2 separate regions of the Homo sapiens genome follow, and region 2 is linked to region 1. The links are contacts of gene promoters, found by promoter capture Hi-C in blood cells and fetal thymus (Javierre and others, 2016). All regions are on one chromosome and are shown on one strand. Each heading gives the region's core, a stretch centred on a gene start or on the middle of the fragment in contact. The rest is flanking DNA. Distances are from core to core; before and after follow the strand shown. Region 1 holds the start of SLC36A2 (solute carrier family 36 member 2). Region 2 overlaps FAT2 (FAT atypical cadherin 2).

Region 1 (2,700 bases), core at 162-2,661:
AGTGTTTCAGTTGATTCAGGACAAGAAGCTGGCAGGGTGGGGCCAGCATTAAAACAAAGGAGACAGTGCTGTGGTCAAAGCTGCAGGCTTCAGAAAAAACAAACAAACAAAACAAAAAACAAACAACAACAACCAAAAAAAACCTGGCTAGCGGGGAGTTCGGATTTACCGAGTTCCAGCTGTGACCTCCAGCAAGTTATTCTTTTCCTCTCTGAGCCTCAATTTCCACATCTGTAAAAACAAACTAACAAAGCTAACCCACAGAAGTAGCCAGGCTTTGTGGAGCTTGAAGCTTATCCCATGGAGAAGGGGAAAGTAGTGGTAAGGAGGACCTCTTTAAGAAAAAAGCAATACAAAATTGTCCATTCAAAATTGCATACAGGACCTTGGAAAGAGCCCCATGTAAGGGAGGGGCCTGACAAATCTGTCTTGGATGCTACCAGTTAGCAGTGACATTAGCTAAGCAAAGCTTGTGGCATGTAATAAGCCCTTAAGAAATGTTAGTTTTGGGGATGAGATGATGGAGGAGAGAGTGGTATGGCTTGAGTCAAAAGCTGTAATTTTGAGGGAGGAGGAAATTTTGGCCTGTTCATCTGCACTGAAGCAGAGATAATGACAGAGAGTGGGATACTAGAGAAACGCCCAAGACCATCTTTAGCTGCAGAGTTCTATCCTGGATTTCATGTGTGACCTTAGACAAATCTCACCACCTCCTGGCGCCAGTATCTTGCCCAGCAAACTGTGGCTGGGAGTCATACAATCTCAGCCTCTTCCCCGTTTCCAGAAGAACACTCTTTACTCACTCCATGGAGCCTCACAAAAGCTAAGAATTAATTAGAGATGACTGAGTGACTGTCCCTTTTTTGTTCCAATTTAAGAATGGGGTGCTGCAAGAAGGGATGTCTTACAGCAGACTGTGGAGCCAGTGAGACATGGAAACCTCTACCCTGAGATGAATAAAAGGAGAGGGATTTGTAGGTATTTTCTTGGAGACAGAAATAGGTTACTGGTTGAAAACCTTGACAAATTGGGCTAGGTTCCAACTCTGTCACTTTCTAGCTATCTGACCTCGGGCAGATTCCTTTACTTCAAGAAACCTCAGTTTTCTCCTTACTTAATTGATAGGGTTAAATGAGAAAATGTAGATAAAACACTTAGAGGATTGCTTATCCCTTAGTACAGGGCTTAATAGATATTTGTTATTAAAATTATCAGTATAATAGTTATCATTATGATTATTATTAAGTAATACCAATACGAATGGGTGATGCCTTTTCCAAATCCCTCCTTCCTCTCCTCCTCTTCCCAGGAGTCCTCGTCCACTGGCTTCTCCAGGCAGGAAGAGGTGCCCTCCAGGGAGGTGGGCGGGGCCTCGTTCCAGCTTGGCCAGAGCCAGCCCGGGCACACACCACTGTGCTGGGGTGTACATCTACACTAGACACCTTCCTGCTTCCCTCCTTCCAGAGCAGACCTCTTTGTCACCCCGAGCTCCTTGTTTCTTAAGCAGTCATGTCTGTGACAAAAAGTACTGAGGGTCCCCAGGGAGCCGTTGCCATCAAATTGGACCTTATGTCGCCTCCTGAAAGTGCCAAGAAGTTGGAGAACAAGGACTCTACATTCTTGGATGAAAGTCCTTCAGAGTCAGCAGGCTTGAAGAAGACCAAGGGCATAACGTGAGTGCTGTTTTCTGCCATCCCTATTTCTGCTTTCTAGCCTGAAGCTTGCATTGGCAAAAACCCTGAGGTGGGTGTGTCTGACCCTCAACCCACTGTGCAGATGAGAAACCAAGGTTGCAAAAGGTGCAGTCATGGGCTGAGTCAAGCTGAGGCAGAAGTAAAGGCTGTCAGAAAAGCCCTTAGGGACATAGTGATCCAGATCCCAAAAGGCACAGGTGGGGAAACTGAGGCTCAATTACCCTGGACCACATACTGAGTCATTGGCAGGATAAGGGCTAGAATTCAGTGCTGGCCCTAAAGCCACATTTTTGTTCCTGGCCAGCGATGTTAAGATTGGGGATAGAGGTAGAATCCCTAACTACTTGGAGGAGAAGGTGAGTCCTGAGCTTAAAACCACAGTGGCCTCACTGACCACTAAGTATTTCCTCCTCCCTGCCTCCTTCCTGCAGTAAGCCTGGCCTCTACTTCAACTGAGAAGCATAGATGACTCTAAAAAACACACTTTGTGGAAAGTTCTAGTTTTTTCCACTTTCCAGGGAGTGGGGAGTGGGGGTTATTCACAAGGCTTCCAAAACATAAAAAAAGAGGGAAGCCAAGCTACAGGGCTGCAGCTCCCTTCCCCACATCTGACCCCACCACCCAACCAGACTTGCTAGTTTACTTAGGAACAAAAGGTGTGGGGTGTGGTAGTGAAGAGGTTCTGCTGCTTTAAGAAGAAAGTTTTTGCACCACTAGATAGTAGAAAGAGCACTGGACAGAGAATCAGAAGGCCTGAGTTCAAGTGGTTTCTCTGCTCCTTCTCTAAGTTCCAGTTTTCTGACATGCAAAACAGGTGGCAGTGTGAACTAAAGGAGGGTGCATGGAAACAAAATCGGAGGATGTGTTTCTCGGGGGTGCACTGCAGGGAGGGACTGTAAGGGGCAGGCAAAGCCCCTCCCCACAGCCATCCAGCAGGACAATTTAGGGATGGACACAGTGACTGGCCCTGCTGCCTGTGCTGTCGCCCCAGGGCTAGTCCTGGAAG
Region 2 (2,700 bases), core at 111-2,610, 170 kb before region 1:
GCTGGTCTCGAACTCCTGACCTCAGGTGATCTGCCTGTCTTGGCCTTCCAAAGTTCTGGGATTACAGGTGTGAGCCACTGCGTCCAGCTGGAATGTGTGGATGTTATAATCCCTTGTGCCTCATCTTTTCTGGTTCTTTCTTCTCCTCCTTTTGGCTTTTGTTCTCTCTCTTCAACAATTCCTCTTTGCTAGGTATCTAGAGGCTGGACCGCTCATCCTCTCCCCTGACAACTGACAAGCTTATTTACACTGGGGTTTTGGGGATTTCATAGCTGGACTCACTTCTGGGGAGGGTGGATATTTTTTAAAATCTGGGGAGGGCAGTGCTTCCCAAAGGGGGTTCAACAGAATGCTATTCCCAAGAGTGGTCCACATAAGAGTGTCCCACAGTCAAAGATGCTTAAGAAACTCAAGTTTACTCCATACTATGCAACTGTGCATTAGCCATTGCTAAGGCGGGATGGAGGATGCCAGACTTTACAAAAGTTTTGGCCATACAGTCTATCACTGCCCCTCTCTCTTTATCATAGAGTGGCTCTTGACCTCTCAGCCGCATTTTATTGTTTACCTAAATGATTAACTCCTGCTCATACAAGGAACTATCCTGAGGCAAAAACCCTTGTGGGTCTAAAATCACACACACATGCAGTATCTACATTCCCAGTGTAGATTCCCAACACCAGAAATAACATGGAAACTATGTAGAATAAAAATTTTGATTTTCACACACTTGATTCATTACATTTCTGGCCTGATTTTTACTTTCTTTTAAAAATTATTATTATTATTATTATTATTATTAGAGACATGGTCTCTCTCTGTCACCCAGGCTGGAATAGAGTGGCAAGATCATGGTTCACTGCAGCCTTGACTTCCTGGGCTCAAGTGATACTCCTGCCTCAGCTGAGAGGATGTAATTCCAAGTAACTGGAGTTACAGGCATGAGGCACCATGCCTGGCTATTTTTATTTTTATTTTATGTTTTAGAGATGAGGTCTTGCTCTGTTGCCCAGGCTGGTCTCGAACTTCTGGGTTCAGGTGATCCTCCCGCCACAGCCTCCCAAAGTGCTGGGATTATAGGCATGAGCCACCTCACCTGGATGACTTTTGCTTTCTTAATGGTTTAAATTCATATTTCTTGACCCAGCCTGGGACCTAAGGCAGGGGTCCCTGCAGTCAACAAAAGGTAGGGTGAAGGCTCCTGTCTGGCTCTACGTGTGAGGCTAGAAAGGTATGGCACACCCCACACCCAGCCTAGTTTCTTCATGTATAAAATATGAGCAATGATTCTGTCTGCCACCCAAGGATTAAATAAGACAAAGTCAGTCCAAGGGCTCAATGGGGACCACTTCAAGTAGAGGTGACAGCTTTGGTTGCTTTCTCAGGTACTGCTACAAGGTTCAGTGGTCAGAGCTATGTGCGGTACAGGGCCCCAGCGGCTCGGAACTGGCACATCCATTTCTATCTGAAAACACTCCAGCCACAGGCCATTCTTCTATTCACCAATGAAACAGCGTCCGTCTCCCTGAAGGTAAGGCACTGCCAGCCTGAGAGATTTCATGTGGGTGTCCCAGGCTGGGGAGGTAGGGGGTGAGGCATGAGGAATGTCAGGAAGCCCATTTCTGCCAAAGAAATCCCTGCACAGTTTTCAGGGATTCTGGGTGTGACTGTTGGGCCACATGATTATCCTGTCCTGGATGGCCACAGCCACCCAACCTGGAGATATACGTCCAAGGACGGTCACAAGTGGGGCTGCTTACTCTGTGGGGTAAGATAGAAATGGAGATGGATGAGGTCAACTAGCCCTGGTGCCGTTATCATTTTTGCTGAGTAATAGGCCAGTGTTTCCCAGGGATGGGGGGATTGCTTACCACTGGGGGTGCTCAAACCCCATGGAATCACATGGAAGAAAAATAAATTTCCTTTGTAATAATCATTCAGTTATTTGGATTATGTCATGTGGAAGGTCACAGTCTGCCTGTGATTTTAACACCTCTATCACATATGCCAATCTACCATTTCTTTTTTCTTTTTTTTTTTTTTGAGATGGAGTCTCTCTCTGTCACCGAGGCTGGAGTGCAGTGGTGTGATTTCAGATCACTGCAACCTCTGTCTCCCAGGTTCAAGCGATTCTCCTGCCTCAGCTTCCCGAGTAGTTGGGATTACAGGCACACACCACCATGCCTGGCTATTTTTTGTATTTTTTAAGTAGAGATGGGGTTTTGCCATGTTGGCCAGGCTGGTCTCGAACTCCTGACCTCAGGTGATCCGCCTGCCTCGGCATCCCAAAGTGCTAGGATTACAGGCATGAACCACTGCCCTCAGCCCCAACCTACCATTTCAACAAAGAGAAAGCCAACTTTGGCCACTAGATTTTAATTCATTCAAAACAGATTTATTGAGCATCTACTATGTGACAGGCACTGTCCTAGGTGCTTGGGTCTCATCAGTGAAAAAGACAGAAATCCCTTTTAAAGCTTTTGTTCTATGGGGGAGAGACTGACAATAAACATAAACATAATAGCTCAGAAAATTATAGAATTTGTTCAAATGTGATAAGTATTATGAGCAAAAAGGAAAAAATGGAGGGGCATCAGGGGTGAGGAGAGTTGCAATTTTTATTTATTTATTTATTGAGACAGAGTCTCACTCTGTCGCCCAGGCTGGAGGGCAGTGGCATGATCTCAGCTCACTGCAACC

Evidence for each region. The method cuts DNA at HindIII sites, captures the fragments that hold promoters and counts their contacts. A CHiCAGO score of 5 or more calls a contact.
Region 2: a contact is called between a fragment that was not itself captured here and the fragment with the promoter of SLC36A2 in region 1, in 3 of 17 cell types (M2 macrophages, M1 macrophages and M0 macrophages). The highest score is 8.2, in M2 macrophages.

Annotation. Positions count from the first base shown.
Region 1 is chr5:151,346,270-151,348,969 of GRCh38, reverse strand. It overlaps SLC36A2 (solute carrier family 36 member 2), which reads left to right and starts at 1,411. Exons shown (of 10, transcript NM_181776.3): 1 at 1,411-1,673. The coding sequence starts at 1,510. It also overlaps a transcript of SLC36A1 not described here. RefSeq lists an enhancer at 985-1,898. The HindIII fragment of the contact is 1,251 bases long and covers 472-1,722 here.
Region 2 is chr5:151,516,451-151,519,150 of GRCh38, reverse strand. FAT2 (FAT atypical cadherin 2) reads left to right here. Exons shown (of 24, transcript NM_001447.3): 20 at 1,386-1,531. It also overlaps a transcript of SLC36A1 not described here. Among named protein-coding and RNA genes, the nearest start is that of MIR6499, 4.3 kb to the left of the region's middle. RefSeq lists a cis regulatory region at 1,895 and an enhancer at 1,811-1,980. The HindIII fragment of the contact is 2,238 bases long and covers 242-2,479 here.